Regions from separate parts of the Homo sapiens genome. Here all the other regions are linked to region 1. The links are contacts of gene promoters, found by promoter capture Hi-C in blood cells and fetal thymus (Javierre and others, 2016). All regions are on one chromosome and are shown on one strand. The core of a region is centred on a gene start or on the middle of the fragment in contact, and the rest is flanking DNA. Distances in the headings are between cores, read along the strand shown. Region 1 holds the start of RBM38 (RNA binding motif protein 38). Region 2 overlaps ZNF831 (zinc finger protein 831). Region 3 holds the start of CTSZ (cathepsin Z). Region 4 has its middle 42 kb from the start of ZNF831. Region 5 holds the start of PRELID3B (PRELI domain containing 3B). Region 6 overlaps LOC107985410 (a long non-coding RNA gene). Region 7 has its middle 16 kb from the start of ZNF831.

What was found. Contacts are between HindIII fragments. The CHiCAGO score rates a contact against its expected background, and 5 or more counts as called.
Region 2: a fragment that was not itself captured here is called in contact with the fragment with the promoter of RBM38 in region 1 in 2 of 17 cell types (naive CD8 T cells and non-activated CD4 T cells); the score reaches 5.2 in naive CD8 T cells.
Region 3: a fragment that was not itself captured here is called in contact with the fragment with the promoter of RBM38 in region 1 in 1 of 17 cell types (total B cells); the score reaches 5.7 in total B cells.
Region 4: a contact is called between a fragment that was not itself captured here and the fragment with the promoter of RBM38 in region 1, in 7 of 17 cell types (total B cells, total CD8 T cells, naive CD4 T cells and 4 more). The highest score is 12.3, in total B cells.
Region 5: a contact is called between a fragment that was not itself captured here and the fragment with the promoter of RBM38 in region 1, in 3 of 17 cell types (total CD8 T cells, fetal thymus and naive CD4 T cells). The highest score is 5.7, in total CD8 T cells.
Region 6: a fragment that was not itself captured here is called in contact with the fragment with the promoter of RBM38 in region 1 in 3 of 17 cell types (fetal thymus, naive CD4 T cells and activated CD4 T cells); the score reaches 7.5 in fetal thymus.
Region 7: a fragment that was not itself captured here is called in contact with the fragment with the promoter of RBM38 in region 1 in 2 of 17 cell types (naive CD8 T cells and non-activated CD4 T cells); the score reaches 8.3 in naive CD8 T cells.

The regions. Positions count from the first base shown.
Region 1 is chr20:57,389,967-57,392,666 of GRCh38, reverse strand. RBM38 (RNA binding motif protein 38) reads right to left here and starts at 1,271. Exons shown (of 4, transcript NM_017495.6): 1 at 849-1,271; 2 at 1-13. The coding sequence starts at 1,085. RBM38-AS1 (RBM38 antisense RNA 1) reads left to right here. Exons shown (of 2, transcript NR_149006.1): 1 at 1-388. RefSeq lists silencers at 649-838, 1,189-1,588 and enhancers at 553-1,052, 1,053-1,554. The HindIII fragment of the contact is 15,883 bases long and covers 1-2,700 here.
Region 2 is chr20:59,170,638-59,173,337 of GRCh38, reverse strand. All of the region lies in intron 1 of ZNF831 (zinc finger protein 831), which reads right to left. Among named protein-coding and RNA genes, the nearest start is that of ZNF831, 8.2 kb to the right of the region's middle. The HindIII fragment of the contact is 2,416 bases long and covers 82-2,497 here.
Region 3 is chr20:59,007,025-59,009,724 of GRCh38, reverse strand. CTSZ (cathepsin Z) reads left to right here and starts at 2,471. Exons shown (of 6, transcript NM_001336.4): 1 at 2,471-2,700. The coding sequence starts at 2,597. RefSeq lists enhancers at 1,218-1,297, 1,438-1,547, 1,568-1,727, 2,408-2,700 and a silencer at 2,188-2,700. The HindIII fragment of the contact is 269 bases long and covers 1,273-1,541 here.
Region 4 is chr20:59,120,737-59,123,436 of GRCh38, reverse strand. It overlaps a transcript of ZNF831 not described here. Among named protein-coding and RNA genes, the nearest start is that of ZNF831, 42 kb to the left of the region's middle. RefSeq lists an enhancer at 861-1,410. The HindIII fragment of the contact is 191 bases long and covers 1,235-1,425 here.
Region 5 is chr20:59,042,465-59,045,164 of GRCh38, reverse strand. PRELID3B (PRELI domain containing 3B) reads left to right here and starts at 2,379. Exons shown (of 6, transcript NM_016045.3): 1 at 2,379-2,466. The coding sequence starts at 2,435. It overlaps SLMO2-ATP5E (SLMO2-ATP5E readthrough), which reads left to right and starts at 2,319. Exons shown (of 6, transcript NR_037930.1): 1 at 2,319-2,466. RefSeq lists a silencer at 2,062-2,461. The HindIII fragment of the contact is 676 bases long and covers 1,035-1,710 here.
Region 6 is chr20:58,645,365-58,648,064 of GRCh38, reverse strand. The region is part of intron 1 of LOC107985410 (a long non-coding RNA gene); the gene reads left to right. Among named protein-coding and RNA genes, the nearest start is that of STX16-NPEPL1, 4.5 kb to the left of the region's middle. RefSeq lists a silencer at 278-572. The HindIII fragment of the contact is 2,566 bases long and covers 43-2,608 here.
Region 7 is chr20:59,146,957-59,149,656 of GRCh38, reverse strand. It overlaps a transcript of ZNF831 not described here. Among named protein-coding and RNA genes, the nearest start is that of ZNF831, 16 kb to the left of the region's middle. The HindIII fragment of the contact is 8,698 bases long and covers 1-2,700 here.

The DNA of each region.
Region 1 (2,700 bases), core at 22-2,521:
CGGCCATGGTCACCTGGTGGAGCAGAGACACATCAGGGGCTGCCGTGGGGGGAACCAGGGGCGAAAGGGGCAGACGGCTCCGCCCTGGCACCGGATGCTGCCACCCCTCTCTTCCCTTCCTCTGAGGGTGCCTGTGACCCAGGGTCCTTGAGCCAAAGCTCCTCTGAACCCTACCTGGGGCTCTCCCACAAAGATGCCTCCTGGATTCCAGCTCCTCCCGTCAAAGTTCAAGGCCTGGGAAATGTGGCCTTCAAGGACAAAAATAATCCCCTGCGGGGATAGGGCAAAAATGAACCCCGAAGGGAGCTTGGGGGGCCGCCTGGACTTGCCCACCAGTGAGGGCCGAGACTTTCCTCTGAGAAGGAGTTTGCGACGCTATGCTTGGAAGGTAAGCAGGAAAGTGTCTTCAAGACGTTTTTACTTAAGCTGATGTTTATTTGGGGCGGCTGAGAGGGCTGTTAAAAATATGGGGGAGGCCGAAGAGCTCCTAACACCCCGGGGTGGAGCCATTGCTCCTCACCCCCCGCTGCTCCAGGAAATCCCGAGTGCCCTCTGGCTCCAAAACCTCCCCACCAACTTAGGAGTCCTAATTGAACACAGCGGCTCTTCCTTTTAAACCGGGGGTGGGGGTGGGGGTGGGGGTGGGGGTGGGGGCCGGGGCCTGGGGTGGTGGGGGCGGGACCGGCAGGAGCGCGCCCGGGAGAGGCGGCAGGTGCGGGCGCCGGCTGGAGGCGCCTGGGGCGGGGGCGGCAGCGGGCCGTCTGGGCGTGTGCCCCGGAGTGGACTCGGCGCCCGGGCCGCGATAAGGTGTGCGGCGGGGTGCGGGCCCGGGCGCGGGGGCCACTTACGAAGCCGTAGCCGCGGGACTTGCCCGTCTGGCGGTCGGTGATGACCACGGCCTCCTCGATGTCGCCGAAGCCCTCGAAGTACTTCCTGAGCGAGGCGTCGGTAGTGTGGTACGGCAGGCCGCCCACGAAGATCTTGGTGAACGTGGTGTCCTTCTGCGAGCCGTGCATGGCGCCGGGGGCGGCCAGGGGCCGCGGGAAGCCCGCGCTCGGGGCGCACGGCGCGGGCTGCAGCAGCATGGGGGGCGCCCCGCCGCCTACGGACCCGGGCCGCGCGGGGCTGCGCTCATGGGGGGCGGCGGGGAGCGCGCGGGGCAGCGAGGGGCGCCCGTCCAGCCGCCAGGCCCGACCACTCCGGCGCCCGTCCCGCCGTGCGCGCCGACGTGCGCCGCGCTGCGCTCCCGACCGGCGCTGCGGGGACTCTGCGCCCCGGCACCGCCCCCGGGCTTTGTAGCCTGCCGCCCCCGCCAGCTCAGCCCCGCCCCCAGCCGGCCCCGCCCCGCCCCGGGCGCGCGGGGACCGCCGGGAAGCGTAGTTCTAACCCCGCCCAGCCGCACCCGGGCGCGCGGCGATTGGGGGGAGGGGGGAGGGGAGCGCACGCGGGCTGAGGGCGGATCCGGGCCTGGGGGCGCTGGGCGCGCCTTTCTCTCCTGGCTGCCCCCGCGGGCCCGGCCGGTTGCAGGCACTAAGCACAACCCTGAACTAGGGAGGCCAGGCCCCTTCCCTCGTGGAGCGCACCGTCTGGTGAATTAAACGTAAAAAACGTAAAAAAACGTAAACGGTTTTTAGCATCTTGTTAATTGAGTCGGTATTTAACCCAGGGCGACTTAGGGAAGAGCCACGTGCCATATTAAAAAAGGGAAATGATTTCTGTTTTATATGTAAGATTAGTTCATCCGACCGATATTTACTCTGGGCGCGAGGCTGCAGCGGAGCACAGATCATATTCCCTGGCCCCACGGAGCGTCCAGGACTGAGAATTCGGCTAGTAAACATACAGCATACGACCCCGGAGGGAGCTACACCACGGTGCCGCGATAGAAGCGGGTCCCGGGCGGTCTCAGAGGCCCCGCGGGAGATGAGGTGGGCAGAGGAAGCAGGTGTGGGCTCTTTCCAGCTCCACCCCGTTCTGGGCTGGTGTCAGGGACCCTTGGGGCGAGTAAGAGCAGACCCGGGTCCCTCATCCGGCCCCCAGCCATAGAAAGGCGGCGCATAGTGGGGCTCTGTGAGCTTCACACCAGGCAGGGCCAGCCACAGAATTTTCGGGGCCCAGTGCAAAATGCAAACGCGGGGCCCCTTATTCAAAAGCTAGGAATTTCAAGTTGGCAGCGGTTGAGCATGAAACTCAGCCCCGGGCTTTCCTGAGCGAAGGGAAGGGCCGTGTGACTGCACAGACCCCGGGATCCCGGACCTGCGGGTCACACCCTCCACCTCTGAAGCCGGGACTAGGGGCCTCAAGCCCGCCTCATCTCCAGCCCCCGCGGTTGGGACCTATGCAGCTGGGAAACAGCAGCTCTAATTGGGGTCACTCCCGGCCCCAGCCCTGCGGCCTCCTCTCAGCACAGGGCGACGCAGGTGGGGTCTGTGGGGACTGGGAGTGGCACTCCGTGGGCTGTGGGGGACCGCAAGGCCGGCGAGGAGTTCCCCTCGTTTCCTCCAGCACCGAGGAGTTCTCCGCGTTTCCTCCAGCCCTCTGCCCTGGCTGCCGGCGGGGAGGAGTCTGCCCGCCCCCTCCCCCACTCCACGGCCCACGCTCCACGCGGCAGCCTTGACCTCTGACCTCTCCCTCCCCCAGCTCCCGCTCTAGCCCTCTGCACAGTGGGGATGGGACCCCCGAGTCTTCCGGAAGCCTGGG
Region 2 (2,700 bases), core at 40-2,539, 1.8 Mb before region 1:
GTTGCTGAAAATCAAACAAAAAAATTAATGGTGCAAGTTACTGAATTAAAATGGCAGTTGAATTCACAGTCATGCCAAGCTTCTCATGTGAAAATTTGGGCACTAATCAGGAAAAAAGGGGATCCTAAAACTCGAGGTGAGGACATCTTGTTGGACCTAGAGAAACTGACAACATTGACCTCCAGGTCATTCTGAGCCTCCCGTACAAGTGGCAGCAGCTTCCCCTCCACTGTCCACAGAGGCCAGACTTCCTGAGCTGGAAAACCTTATGATGCCTTCACTTAGGGTAGATGCCTTGAAAGGGAATACTGATCCTTCTCAGAACCCACCACAACAAGCCCCTGCTCCCTCTAGACTTAACTAGATTTAACTGAGTCAAATCTCAGCATGGCCCAAGGAGACAGGTGCTCACTATGACCCAGAAGGAAATGGCTCACACACCAGAAGAGCTGAACGCCCTGGCTAATATGTCAGCAGAATCCTAGGGAACATGTGTGTGCAAATGGATTCTGTGGGTTTATACCAAGGAGGGCAGAAAACACCACCAGCCATTGGACCAAATTCATTGACAGGAGTGCACTTACCAGAGAGTCTCAATTTAGTGTATTAGTTGTGCAGCTGGATGTGGCTTTAACAGCTTCCTAGGTTGGTTGACTGAAATCTGGAAATGATGGTGACCTGCATTTAGTGAGGCCGGAATGCTGGAGCTTCCCTGGCATGACACAGAGGAGGGGCTCTAAAGACTATGGGAAATATGCCTGCTGGGCCGGGTGTATCACAGGCAACCTCCAACTCTCCCAGCGGCATGCCTCAAGAAGACCCAGAAGGCCCCTCTTCAGGAGGGCGCTGAGAAATGCATTAATGAGGGGAGCATCCGCATCCCCGAAAAGATCTGTGGTTGCTCTTTTTCCAGGCCAGGAAGAGCTGTAGGGGACACCACTATTGAGACAGGCTCCCTCATTTCACTGTGGTTGTTGGGGGGTCCCAGAATAGCAGAGGACCAAGTGGCATCACTTCATTGCCAAAGAGAAGGTGAGCGTGCCACGGGAGCAACAGGGAATGGCAGGAATCCGAATTCTTTGGCTCGCAGAGATCTTAGCAGTAACTAACTGATCACGTTGTCCCTCGGAGGGAAAGACCAGTCAGTCTACTATGATATCATAGGAAATCATAGGAAAAGTCCTAAGTGTGGTGGCAAGTAACGTGACTCAGTCATCAAATGGAGACTCACGGCCCTTTACCCAGTTTTCAGAACTAAGGCAGTTTGCAGACCTACAGGCCCTTGATTGAAGGGAAAGCCAGGTCCCCTTGAAAAGGACACTCTACTATTGCCAAAAGGATACACTGTAAATCTTTCTTTATGCCTTCTCAAAGGGACCTGTTGCCACATAGTGGAACAACTGCAATTTGGGAGAAAAGTACATACTCATACTTTTCAGGAGTTAGTAGATATTCCAAGAGGTAAAGAACCCAGGGCAGCTGAGGTCAAGGAAGATGTGGAATGGGTGGTGGAAGAAGAAAGTCACAGATATGAACTACAACTTCATGATCAATTATATAAACGAGGACTGGAGGGGGTTTGTGTATGGTCTCTATGTGTGTTATATGAATGAGTTTTATTTTATCTTTACTAATCATTCTCTACTTCTTTCTCCTACTTCATGTTTTAAATTTTTATATATGAGTTATTGGAAGTTAACTTTACAATTTAGGCTTTAGGGAACAGAATATTCAGTGAGAGCTTGACTGAATTTGAAGAGCAATTGATACAGCCTGTGCTGAGTACAATGACTGCATCTGCTCATTTCGAACAAGTGAGAACCTCTTCACTTGCTAGAAGCATGGATGTATCTTGTTAGGTGGAAATACAGAGCCATTCTGTTGTAAGAAAGTTCACATGCATGTAAAGGGTACACATGGGGCTGCACAGGCAAAGGGATAGACTGTGCCAGATAGAAATTTATTGCCTCTCAGCTCCAAAAAATGCCATTCAATACATGCTGTATGATAAGGGATGCAAACTTTTAAAGATTTTCTCCTTTAAAGTGGACACAGTGCTAAGTTTTTCCAACAGAGGATGTTGGAGGGTCATTGCAGGAGGAAGAGGCTTCCTGCAGTTTCCAGGAGGGGCCCACGAGAGGGCCAGTGGTGTGGGTATGAGGACATGCCATGGAGTTCCCCCTCCCAGCCACAGGCCCCAGGACTCACTCCCTCTGCAACCTTGCAGCCTCAGCCCAGCAGTAATCTGTCTGCAGCCCCCACAACATAAAAACCAAAGCTGTTGCACAGCCTGCCTGTGGCTGGGGGGTTCACATGGATCTGCTCCTTCTGCAACCACACAGCCGGCACACTGTCTTTCTGGGAGCTCTGGAGACTTCTGTCCCACTAGTGCCAGACTCCCATAACACACCCACGTCTCTGGTTGTAGATTGCCTGCCACCTCCCACCTGTACTCCAGAAAGTTGCCCATTGTTTGCCCAGCAACTCCAGATAAGCTTCAGTCTTGCTAAGCCAGCCAACTCCTCTGCTATCCAGTGGGCAAATCACATCTCTTCCAGGGAGGTCTGACTCCTTCCACGTGTGTCCTTGCTGGGAGAAATGGAAGCTGTCTCTTTCAGTTGAGAAGCTGAATCTCAATCCTAGGGTGCCACATGGAGTTCCCTTATGTCTTATAGTCCCTCTTCATTATAGTTAGTAATT
Region 3 (2,700 bases), core at 158-2,657, 1.6 Mb before region 1:
AAACCCTATCTCTACTAAAAATACAAAAACTTAGCCAGGTGTGATGGTGTGTGCCTGTAATCCCAGCTACTCAGGAGGCTGAGGCAGGAGAATTGCGTGAACCCAGGAGGTGGAGGTTGCAGTGAGCCGATATTGCTCCATTGCACTCCAGCCCAGGTGACAGAGCGAGACTCTGTCTCCAAAAAAAAAAAAAGAAAAGAAAAAGTAAATGATGATTTCAAATGGATAGGCTCCCTCCCTCTCTTCCTGCCCTATTCCATCAGATTCTGATCTTGAATTGCTTCTATGTTAGGGAAACCCAGGGGGCACAAGTTGTCAACTTTGGACGTCCTTTTTGTTACCAGCCTAAAAATATCCTTCCCTTTAACCAACTTTCAATAGGGTAAATCCGGAGAGTCTCCTCTTTGGAACTCCCCAGATAAATTAAGCTTTGTGCCAGCATTTGGGAGCAGGACTGTGAATGTTTATTCCCCTTCCTGACCATCTCACCCCTCCTCCTGACCCCTGTTTGTGAGTTTGATTTGCCAGAGGCTCTGGGCTGAAAGCGGGTGATGTACAGGACTTGTGATGGAGCAGGTGTGGTTGCTGTCATCAGACCCAGCTACATAATTTGCAGGGCCCAGGGCACAGTGAACCTGGAGAGCCCCTCGTTCAGCTCTGCATTACACTTCTGGACTTAGGGCCTCATGTGACTGCAGGGGTCGTGTGCCTGCCTTGCTGACCATGCCTGTCATACCTTCTACATGCGCTGGACCTGCTCGGAGAGTCTCGGGGCATCTTCAGAGCACCCCAGCTCTCCCCATGCTACAGGAAAGAAAAGCTTACACCTTGGGTGCCTTTTCACCCAGATTCAGGGACCAGGGCCCAGGACATCACAGCTCAGGCATCAGAGGCCAAGCACAAGGGGCCCTCCCCTCTCCAGGCTTGTTTCTCATGCTGTAGAATGTGCTGTTGGACTTCACAGTACCTGGATCATAACTATGGGTACCTGGAGGGAGGGGCACGATATCTCTTACCACACAATTTTGTGAGTTCTTAGCTTTTTCTTTAGAAGAAGCCAAAAACCGGCCGCTTTGGTAGATGCCACCTGATGACCTGGCAAGGGCAGCTGTGTCTGGGTTTCTTCCTCACAAGGACCCAGCTCCTATAGTCAGGGAGGCCAGAGGGTTGACATGGGAGGAAGAAAGGCCCCCTCTTGGCAATTCTCTTTCCACTCCTTTTATGCCCAGAGGTTGGGAGGCCTCGCTCCCACCCCCACCGCCAGCTCAAGCTTGGGGACTTCTCCCAGGATGGCCACCCCACCCCGCCTTCTGATGACTGATGGACACTAATGGTTTCCATGAGCGACTTGCCAAACAAATAAGAGACACATCAGTAGGTAGAGCCCCGGGGCCACACTTTGCCTCAGTGACCACTTTTTGGGGAACAAGGACTGAAACTTCTGGGCTGACGAAGCAGCTCTCCAGCCTTGCTCTCCACTCGGACAGTCATGCGGGGATTCCATGGCCACCTCAGCGCTTCCGGGAATGGTCATGGAAGCTTCTGGAAGTCAGGAGGCAGCCACTGTGACTTCCCCTTGCCCACGTGGCACGCTTGGAATGTGGTGAGTGCCACTGAGTATGGAGAGAGTCAGGCAAGCTCATCTGTGGGCCCTGTGCCAAGGGCCCCCAGCAGGGGCCTGTCAGGTCGCAGCCCAGAATGCCGGGCCCTGTTCTTACCAGAGAAGAAGGCCATGGTGTGGGCCCAAGGGCCATGACAAACAGAGGGGCCGCAGGGAGCGAGAAGCCCTCCCCCAGTTACAAAACCACGTCCTGGGGGGCCACTTCTGCTTTTGGTTCCTCATTTGACTAAGAAGAGTTTCGTTAGCAGAAAACCTTTTCAAGGCGTCTTTGGAAGTCACATTGGATAACTCCTGATGCCTGCGCCAAGTGGAATCTTCCTTTGGGGCATTTTCTAGAAGGATCCCTCCTTCCTTCTCTGCAAAAGGGAACCGTCCCCCCGAAAGGGCCTGGGCCTTTGGGAAAAGGGGTTTAGAAAGCCAGGCGCGGGGACCCTTCTTTGGGGGCGGTGGCCGCATCCCAGGATCCCTTCCTAGGGGAGGCCTGGGCCCAGATGTGAGGCTGGGGGCCTCTCCCCAGGGCTCAGGGCCCCAGGAATGCAGGGCCAAGGGGGCCCATGAGCCTGCGGCCCCCCACCCCGAAGCCAGGAACCCCGGCAAATGAGTCCAGCCGGACAGTCCCGCGCTCAGGGCGGCGGCCGGCGGCGGGGTCAGGCTGGGGTCTGCCCGGCGACCTCGCGCCTGGCCCGCGAGTTCAGGTGCCCCGGAGCCAGGGAGGGAGCGGGGCGCGGAGCCGGGCGGGGAGGGCAGGGGTCACCGGGCGGGGCAGGAGCAGCGATGGGACAGCCCCGCCCCGGGGGAGTGTCCCGGCCTGGCCGCCGCAGCCTTAAGGGCCGGGCGGGGCAGGGGCCCAAAGTGCGGGGTCGGCCGGGTGCTGGGCCGAGGCCGAGGCCGGGGCGGGATCCAGAGCGGGAGCCGGCGCGGGATCTGGGACTCGGAGCGGGATCCGGAGCGGGACCCAGGAGCCGGCGCGGGGCCATGGCGAGGCGCGGGCCAGGGTGGCGGCCGCTTCTGCTGCTCGTGCTGCTGGCGGGCGCGGCGCAGGGCGGCCTCTACTTCCGCCGGGGACAGACCTGCTACCG
Region 4 (2,700 bases), core at 81-2,580, 1.7 Mb before region 1:
CGGAACTTCTTAGCTGGGGTTGTTTTGGTGAGACAGGATGTTCACATCTGAAATGTGCCTCTGAATATGCAAGTGGGTATTTGCCCATCATTTATTTGCTATGCATAAGATTTCCACGCACGGCTGACGATTTTCTCTCATAAACAGATGCCCCAAACTTCCTTTCTCTCTCTCCCTTAAACCCAACATCTGGGCCATCTACGTGGATGCGCCATTCTATGGGGGTAGCCACATGGGGGTGGGAAGGAGATGCAGTCGAGAGAGCTGAGCTTTAGCCCTAGAACGGCCGGAAACTTCCCAGGGACTTTGGGCAGATCGTCAAACCTCCCCGGGGTTCAATTTCCTCCCTGACAAAGTGAAAAAAAAAAAAATGAAGCTAGTGTTGCCCCACCTGCCTGCCCAGCCAAGCTGTAGGGAAGAGGAAATAGAAAATGCAATGGCTTTGAAAATTAGAAACTGTGACATCCAATTGTATGATACAGAAAATGACACAGGGCATCTGAAAATGGACCACCAAGCCTCCCGAGGGAGATTCTGGATCCAGTTGAGCCTCCTTGGTACTACTTCAATGAGTCTGAAGAGTAGAGGCAGAGTGACATGATCATAGTAGAAAGAATAACACGCAATTTATTGCAAGCTCATTGCAGGTTAGACACTGTGTAAGTGCTTCTCATGCATTAGTTCACTGAGTTCTCACCACCCTCTGAGGCTGACATTAGTGAGATCCTCATCTTACAGAAAGAGTTTACGAGGTCAGCTGGTTTGCAGAATGTCACACAGCTAGTAAATGGTGTCACTAGGACTTGTACTCAGGTCTGTCTGACTCCGGGCCCTGAATGCTTACCCACTAGACTAGACTAAAATCCTAATGGCACATTAGACTGACTGCGAGCAGCCCTCTTCCCTCTCAGGACCTCAGCTTCCCTCCCAGCTGATGGAGAGGATGAGTAAGGGACTCGATGCTGTTCAGACCCCTTCCAGCTTGAGCAAACTCTCATTCTTGGAATGAAGCTTGGCTGAGAGCAAATTGTGAACTCTTGAAGGAGGCACTTAGTGACAGTGCCGCATGCTGCTCCCTGGCTGTGAGACTTTTCTCCTGCTGTGGAGATGGGCCATGAAAAGAGAAGGGCTTCCTGTTGTTCACTTTATAGCTCCCCATTCAGGCAGTGCTTCTTCTAACAGACTCTCAAACTGCATGGAGGCAAGTTGTTGTTTTGCTGGGAGAAGGGAAGCTTCTTTAGGCTAATTTCCCCCTCCTCCTGATTCTTCCTGTTCTTTGTAGTCTTTTGCTTTACCAGACTCGGATTTGCAAACCTGTTGTCAAGGCAACACTAGGTTTCTCTCTTTGCACTCTAATGTCTCAATGGGGGTATCCATGGCAACAAGAATACCTTGCGCTTTCAAAGTCAGTGACCTTCCAAAGCTTCCTGGGATGTGTGGAGTTAAATTATGTTTAGACAATTTTTTACCACAGCTACCAATTTAGTACCTAATAAGCCTAACTGATGACGTCTGTAACAGTTAGCTTTTGCTGTGTAACAAATAACCCCAGAAGTTAGTGGCTTAATCTGAAAAGTATTTATCATTGCTGTAGAGGTCAGCTGGGTGGTTCTTCTGGTCTCAGCTGGGCTTGCTCATGCTCACCTGACTGAGCTCCATCACGTGTTTGGGGGGCATCTGGCTGTAGGCTGGATCAGGAGGGACTCATCCAGGACAATCGGGCTCTCCTCCACATGGTCCCCATTCTTCACTAAGCTATACCAGGCTTTTCCACACAGAGGCAGTAGGCTGCTGAGGCAGGGACAAGGGAGGGAGAGTGTGAGCAGACAGAAGCCACAAGGGCGCTTGAGGCCTGGGCTTGGGACAAGCTCAGCATCTCTTCCACCATATTCCATTGGCCAAAGCAAGCCCCAAGCCAGGCTAGATTCAAGGGGTAAAGAAGTGGACCTCACTTCTTGATGGGGGTGGGGAGGATGGCAGAAAGGTCACATTGCAAAGAGAATGAGAGAGGAGGGATGGAGAATCGTGGCCATTTTTACAAACAATCTATCACATCATCCTTCCACATTTGTTGTGGAAATATTCAGGCACTACATACATGTGAATGGAGCCTCAACAGCCAATAAGCAATCTTAGCAGAGATGACATGGAACCCTCAGAATTCTCAAACCTCTCCCTGCTCCCTCTGGAAAGTGCTCTTCCTCCTCGGGATGACGCAGGTGTGAGCTGTAGCACAGCTTCCGTCTATGCATGTTGGTCAGTCCACCTGAACCTCACAGATTGAGAATACCATGGGTCCCCAGGGGAAAAGAGAGATGCTGTCACCAGAAAAAGGGACACTGAGTGCTAGACATCCAAAAACAACAGATGACTCTGTAGTCCTCCCCCAGCCACCACTCGCCGAGAAGCAAAAATCCACAGTGCATCAGCAGTCACTTCTTTAGCATGAGGAATGGAGTGATTTCTTATCAGGTGAAACCTCTTCCAACTGTGAACTCCTGGAAAATTTCAGGATTTGATCAAAACTATTTCTAAAAACAAAACCTGGAACTTTCAGCTGTCCTGATCCTAGACCAGGAAAGCAGGAGCAGCTTTCCACTTTGCTGCAGGAGCCTGCTTCTTTCCTGAGGCTGGTGAAGGAGGCTGTGCTCCGGAATGGTGAAAGGTGGAGGGTCACCGCCCCTGGGGAATTACCACAGT
Region 5 (2,700 bases), core at 123-2,622, 1.7 Mb before region 1:
GAGTGGGACTCTGTCTAAAAAATAAATAAATATCCTCTAGTTGATTCTTGACTTGTGTTTTGGTTTTGGTTCCTGGCCAGTTGTAAAGTTCCTTGTAGGTAAGAGTTAATGTCTGCATTCTCATCCCAGACACGGAGCTCGGCAAGATCCCAACAGGAGATCCCAGCAGGAAGGGTGTGGAGATGTGTGTCATCCCTGGGGCAAGGGCCATAACTACCAGTCACCTAGTTAATTTCAAATCAAAGTAATGATCTGTTGTTAATGACTTCTCTGTTTCTGTGAGAGGCACTGTCAAGTAATGCAGTGCTTAGGTATCTAAAAACCATTAATTTGCTTCCTCTGTGTCTCCTAACAGAGTCTCCAGGAGATAATCATTATGTAAGTCTTACCCTCCAAATCCAAGCAAGAGGTGGTATTATTTCTACCATGAGGAGACACGCAGAGAAGACAATTGGGTCCTGGATCTCCATCTTTCCATGCCCCATCCCACCACTCTAGATCTAGTAAGTAAAATTAGACTGATATAGTATGTGTGTTGGGGGCACGGGAGATAGGTGTCATTTAATTTTCATGACTAAAACACAGAAATTTTGAACTTGAGAGCAGAATAATGTTCTCTAAAATAAACAGAACAGGAATGCTGAATGGTGAACAGCCTCATGGAACTCCAGGAATAGCAGGGACAGGCTGTTCTGTGCTGATGGTTCTTGAACCAGTGTTTTTAACACCCAGCGACGTTAACTGCATCTTAGTCAAGGCTGAGGTACTCTCAGTAGCCCTTAAAGCATTACCTCCCCAAGAAATCACTCTTAAGTACTGTAGGTTTAAAAAAAGAAAATCTCAGGTACCACAAATTGCACTTAGCAACTACCCAACCATATTATTTCCTTCCTGTCTAATGTAATTTTTGTTTTCCTGTATAAAGGACTTATGTTATTTTGAAAAATTATCCTCCCTCCTAAATTAACCTGGCTTTTTGTCTTTAACAATCAAACAAGCTAAGAACAAGAATGAGGTGGTCCTTCTAACAAGCTTCTAAGTAACTAGATGTAAAGATTTTCCTCCATAACCTTCATTGAAAATGGCAAATTGTTCTGTTAGGAGGTAGACGGCTGTGGAGAGTGCAGGAGAGCAGGGTGGGAAGCCATATTCTGAAAGCTAAGCCAGGCAGTCTGTTCCCTGGACAAGGCTCATCTCTGAATGAAACCACATGCCACCTCCTCCTGCCCCAGCAATTCTTAGTCATTCTTTCATCCATTGATGCAACAAATAATTGTCATTTAGGAAGGGGGAAATCACTGAACAAGTCTGGCAAGAGCCTCGCCCTCAGGGGCTTACAGTCTAGCGGAAGTTACAACAAATAAACTAGATGACTCCATTAATTCATTCATCCCACAAATAGCTATTGATTTTTTTCATTTTTCAATAAGTAGTCATTGAGCCTTGACTATATGGGAGACACTGAGGATGATTTTTGAGCAAGACCGGCAAGATTCTTGCCTTCAAGAACTCAGTTCGATTGTGAATTTTCACAAATAAATTAACAAGATGATGTCAGAGGGGTAAGTGCTATAAAAAATGCAACAGGATATTGTGACGGAGCAGAGCAACAAGGTGAGAAACGGTGACGAGGGAAGTCTCTCTGGGAGAGACATCTCAGCTCAGATCCATCCTATGCACCTAGGGCAAGGTGTGCCCGGCCAGGAAGCTTTTCTACCCGACCCCTGGCACCGTGCTTCCGGACCGCATCCCTCGTAGGGGTATTATTCATGGGCAGGTCTGATGTTAGCTTCTCCGCGTCACGCCTTATTTATCCCCTCCGAGGGCTGCAAGCTCCTGGCGGGCAGGTGGGACTGGCCCAGCTGATCGGCTGGGTGGCTGGTGGATTTGGGAAAACAGCCCGGGCTGACCCAGGAGGTGGCTGGAACTCTCTATAGGGCACCAGGAAATTTTGCACAAGTGACCACCACAACGAACATCTATGTCAGCAGGCTGACCGCATGCGTCCACACGCCTCGAAATGCCAGGCGAGGATGTGCTGGGCCAGAAGGACAAGGAGGGCCAAGCGGGCGCGCAGGCACCTCCTGGACCTGACCCAACTCTGCCCAGAGGTCAAGGCTCGCTACAAGCCCGCCGCGCCTGCGCAGCACAGCGCCCGCGCCGGCCCCTCCAGCTGCCGTCGGCGGCACTGCGCCGGCGCGATGCGCCCGGCGCTAAGAGGCGGGGTTTCCTTGCGCCGCGCGCAAGGCTGGGGCAAAACCCGGGCCGGGATAGGGCGTGGGGCCGCGCGTCTGGACGTCCCTCGCGTCGGGCCCGACAGCGCCTGCGCACTGCGCCGCCGGCTGGGGTGCTGGGGGCGGGGCAGGGGCAGGTGTAGCCTCTGTGCCTCGTTGTCCCCTGGCGCTACCCGGACATCTCTCAGGGTGCCGGCACCATGAAGATCTGGACTTCGGAGCACGTCTTTGAGTAAGTTTGGGGCGCGGGTCGGCTCCGTGGAGGGCAGGCACGCCGGCCCTGGAGTAGAGGCGAGGCAGAGGCGGCCCGCAGGAGGCTTCTAGGCGTCGGGCCTAGCGAGGGGAGCGAACTCTGAAGCCTGCGGGCCCCGGCGACACGGAGGGCAGACCAAGGTCACGACCCCGAGGCGCCCTAGCCGAGGGGACGGCTCCGACCTCCAGACCCAGGCGGCCTTGCGACCGGCAG
Region 6 (2,700 bases), core at 76-2,575, 1.3 Mb before region 1:
TGGAATTGAAATCTAGGTTGATGGTTTTACATTTTAAAAGCTTTCATTGTGACTCATTCTTGGCCTGGGCTAGGATTCGGTAATACTCCTCGGGCTTGGTGAGGCTCCGTGTCCTGTTTCTTGGGCTTCATACCCACTTTCTAACATTCTGCCAACGAATCCAATAAGTCACTTTTGGGGACAAGTGTTTCATTGTTTTCTTGTCATCTCATTCAGTGCAGGAGGAAGCCCCATTGAAGCCAGGCCATGGCTTGGGCAGGTGCAGGTTTTCAAGTACTGAGAGGGGATGGTTAGCTCAACAGGTCAGCAGTGGGACACACACCCTTTGGTGAAAACAATTTAAATGAGATAGGGCTCATGTAAGCCCTTATACAACCTCAGCATAGAGTAAGTGCGCCACAAATGGGCAATATGATTTATTACAGCAGTAGTCTTACTGTTGGAAAGCTCACGTGGGCTCTGCTCTCCCTGGAAGGCATCATAAACTCCAAAGAGAATGGCATGGTATTGAGAACTGAACACTTGGAAATCTAAGCACGTTTCCGAGCTTCTTGTTCTGGACCTTGGGAATCCAGATGTGTCTGCAGTGCACACTCATGTGGAAGAGGGGGCTAAACCATCTCAAAGACACCTTTTAACATTGGTCTTTCTCCCACCTATAGAAAGACAGATGGTTGTTTGCTTATCAAGCAGCAAAAGCCCCCAGGCCTAACATATGTCTCGTCTGCACAGATCTGACAGACAGATTCGGGCCAGGTTCGGGTAACAGGAGTTGTGTGTTCTGTGTCCCCAAATAGTTCCTCAAAACCTTGAGTATTTCCAACAACAGAAAACTCCCTATCTGGGTCTGTCTTCAGCTATGATGCCTCTCCCAAGAAGGGAGACTCTGGAGAGAGGCAACACTTTTGTTTTGTCTGGAGTCCCGTAGCTTTTAATACCAGACAATTCAATACAGTAGGCATTTCTAAAAATCTACCAGTGGCTGTGCCTATCTCTTGCCAGGCACTGCTGAAAGAATGAAACAGCAAAACTCTTGCCTTCAGGGAATTTGCATCTCCACTGTCTCTACCCAAATTCTGGTTCTCATCGTGTACATTTTCCCAGCAGCCTGCTAACAACCACCCGTCTCTTCCCTCCTCATCCTGCAGCCACAGTGACCTTTCCAAAGCATAAATCTGATCATGTCACTGCCTGATTGAGGCCCTGAAACAGCTCCCTCTGGCCCATGCCAGCCGATCTCAAATGACGCTCAGCAGAAAACAGGTGCTCTAAGTTGAACCAAGCTGGGCATCACTAATATTAACTAATGATGGACTTTTCTTGGTTGTCAGAAAAAAAAAAATGAAGCTAATTAATGGAGTAGTCTCCATCTTAAGTGTTTCTCTTCTCGCTTTCTCTTAAACCTTCAGTCCCTGCCACCACTTGGCTGTATTAGAATATAGTATAAGACTAGATCTGATTTATTCCAGAATCATGGATTTCAGTACAATTTTTTTCCCATAGATCAGTATTTCCTGGAGTTCTGCATTTAGGTTTTCTACACTTTCCACATGGCGGAGTGCCCCCTGGGCATTCAAAGCCCTGCCCAACAGGCCCCACCTAAATGGTGAGCTTTTTTCTTTCCAGGACTTGGCTCACAGGCCTTTCTCTGCCTGGTGGGGGTAGTGGCGGGGGATGTGTCTTGCCCCTTCTGCTTGGTGAACCCTTCATTGAAGACAGCACCCCCTACACTGTCAGGTGTGATAAATGTTTGCGGAATGGATGACTGGATGGATTAATGCACAAAAGGTGAGATTAACTATATTAAGTGCTAGAGAATACCAGACAGTCAAGACTCAAAATGGGTGGAGAGATTAGGGCAGTTCTCTGTCCCCCTCGCTCACCCCTTTTCAGCCACACTAGCCTTCCCACCATTCCTCACACCTCCTTAGCACCTGCTTTGCTCTCCTTCCTAGGTTCTTCAAATAACTGGCTCCTTCTCACCACTCTTGTCTCAGACTATTCAATAGAAAGTAATCCTCCTACCCTGTCCACCGTGTGGGGAGAGGACTCTCCTCTCCCAGGGCCCTTATGTCACCATCATACCAGGTGCCTGCCCATGCTTGGTCAAGTTCAAGACTGAAACAATGTCTAACATCGTGGCTTTTGGTCTTTGAGGCCAAGAAGAGGCCTCTTGGGTCACAACACATGCCAGCAAAGCATATCTGCATTTTACTTTTTTTCCAGGATGATGTGGACACATGTGTACTCAAATAAATCAACCCTCCCATCTTAACCATCTCCCTTGGCAGGAACAATAAGTTAATGTGCCAAGCCAGGACTGACCTGGATGACTCAAACCCTGAAAAACATAAAGGAAATCATTGTGTTTTTCCGCTAGCAGGTATTGAAACATAGCCAACTCACTCGTTTCTAGTTTTTTTTCCCATGGCCATGACCACTGACCTGCTCGTGGTAATTTGTGTGATGTGCAAGTGCAGGGCTGGACTCCAGCCTTCTCCAGATGCTGCCTGTGCAACCAGCAGCCCCTTATTAGCTATGTGGCCATGCATGGCTCAAGACTCCTTTGGTCACAAGGGACAGAACCCAAATCAAATGGACTTAAGCTTCAAAGCAAATGTGTTGGCCCAAACATCTATGCGTAGCTGGATCCAGAGGAGGAAACATATCAACAAGGAGTTTCTATCTCTCAGCTCTTTC
Region 7 (2,700 bases), core at 66-2,565, 1.8 Mb before region 1:
CAGCCTCTCTCTCCGACAGGCCAAGCCCAGGCTTTTGGCGCTCACTCAGGAGGGAACCCTTTTCCTTCACGATTTTTTTTGGAGGAGGGAGATCTTATTTTATAGTAAGATCAATAGATATATTATGGAGTATAAGGTTAAAGTTTTATATCTTTAAGATACAATGCAAAAAGTAAAATGAAATGTATAAGACTCCGTTTCTTCCTCCATAAAATGGTATTGGGGAAGGCGCCAACCACATGGGGCCATTACAGAGATTAGACAAAGAGACATAAGCAAAGCCCTTCTTTGGCACAGCCCCAGGCCACAGTCACATCTTCTTTAATTGGAAGTTTGCCATTGAGACTGGGCCCAAGGATTAACATCCCTTCATCTCGTCTGGCTTATCAGACCTCCACACACAGAAAGAAATTGCAAAGCAGCAAAGGGAGTCTAGGTTTTGAGCACCAGAGGAAGCTGGTTAATCTTCAGTTGATTTTCTGATGGCACCTCTGGTCTGATCTCAAACAGAGGATGGGGTCTGAGAGCCCTTACCTTGTCTGACCCATCAAGATGGGCACCCATCCTATTCATCTGTGGCCACAGACACGGCCAGCCTGGAAGGGATGGAGACCCTCGTTACCAATGGAGACACCATCCCCTGGCTCTGCCCCTCACAGCCTCTGGCCAGGGCTGAACTCGAGTGCCCGCAGCCCAGAACGCTGCAACTGCACCTGCTCTCCAAGGCACAAGATGCTCTGGGGAAGGATGTGGTAAGCTGTGTCCAAGGTGCAGGGGTGTTGTGGTCAGGAGGGCAGAACTCACACCAGGTATGTGGGTCTGAGGTAGGAGGCTGCAGGACCTCTGAATCTCCTGGCTGGGTGACAGGATGGAATTGAGCCTCAAGACATGAGACCCAGAGTCAGCACCCTGCTTGCTCTCACGCTCTGTTCTTTTTTTTTTTTTTTTTTTTTTTTTTTTTTTTTTTTTTTTTTTTTGAGACGGAGTTTCGCTCTGTCGCCCAGGCTGGAGTGCAGTGGCGCGATCTCGACTCACTGCAAGCTCCACCTCCCGGGTTCACGCCATTCTCCTGCCTCAGCCTCCCGTGTAGCTGGGACTACAGGCGCGCGCCACCATGCCCGGCTAATTTTTGTATTTTTAGTAGAGACGGGGTTTCACCGTGTTAGCCAGGATGGTCTCGATCTCCTGACCTCGTGATCTGCCCGTCTCGGCCTCCCAAAGTGCTGGGATTACAGGCGTGAGCCACCGCGCCCGGCCGCTCTGTTCTAACCCATCTTCAGAACATCAGAAATGTAGCAGTGGTGATGCTTCCCAAGGACTGAACAGGGACTTTGCCACTGGTCCTCAGAGCTCATGTGCACCCCTTGGATATCCCCCCTCAACAGAGAGGCCAGCCCCATTCCATCATGGAAACCCTCCCAGCCTACTCTGATGAGATTGTCCGTGTCCCTGTCTTGGATGGGCCGACCACAAATGACTTAGGAACTAAACGAAGACTATGCATTGGCCTTGACCAACGGCACTTAACAATTAGCGTCAATGGCCCCATCAGGCTCTAGGTTAGTAGGAGAACATTCTCAAGCATTTCAGAGAGTATAAGGGACGTCTCTTCTAATTAGGGTCCATGATGTAGTCATACTTTCTTATTGATCTAATAATTGGTGCAAATGTACAAAAACAGCTGTCCCAACAGTGTGCTGCCACGTGGCCTTGGGTTTTTCATTCTGGCCTGTAATCCCCCCTTTTACCACCTCAGAAAGCAAGGCTTCATGCGTACAATCATGCCTGCATTTCAGCTGCTCTTCAGATTTACAGCCTCGCCTCTGAAATATGAACAGGTTTTTTGGAGATAATTAGTCTCACACACAACTTCAGCCAACATCTGATCAACCCCAGTCATATCATTAGTTCTTGCTAACATATTACACTTTGCCTAAACTATATTGGAAGATGTTCTCCAGTTATGATATCTGATTAGTCAAAATCAGCCTTGTTTGGAGATGAGGGGGGCCTCATTCTTCCTTGTGGTAGGAGAGCTGCCCTCAAAGCCTTTTCTTTAAATTCTAAGCCATGATCCAACATCTTTGCCTTTTCCCAATTTCAGCTTGTACAGCCTTTCCTTTTAAAAAACAAAGTATAACAATTGCAATTCTCCCTTGGCCACTGGCCAGACATCCAAGGGCCAGAGTGAGGAGATTAACGGATACACCCAGAGGGGACAAGGTCAGAGAGCAGAACATTCTGGACACATGTTTGTGTCAGAGACCAGACCCCAAAGGACTGGAGAGCTCCCATTAAGAAGGGCTGGTACCTCCAGCTAGAGTGACACGCGAGGGCCCTTCAGAGCCTGTGCATGGAACATGCCTGTGACATTAATTAATGCCAGGCAAAATGTAACAGCAGATCTTGGAAACTAAAAATAGATCTTTACTAACTGATTCATCCCCTGACTGCACAGAATTTGGAGCTTTTTGTCTGCTTCTCTTCTACATGTACATTACATTACGGCCTCTTTTCCCCCTTTTCTCCATCTTTGTTGTTCTTCCTTTTTCCTCTCCTTCTTGGTGAAAGGTCTAAACCTTCCAGAAGCGATGTCCCCACTCAGCTCCCCTCCGACCCAGAGACATGCTCGATAAGCAAGGAGATTACTCCTTCTCCTGCTCCCATGGTTGTCAGCCATGTAATCTGCACTTAGTATTT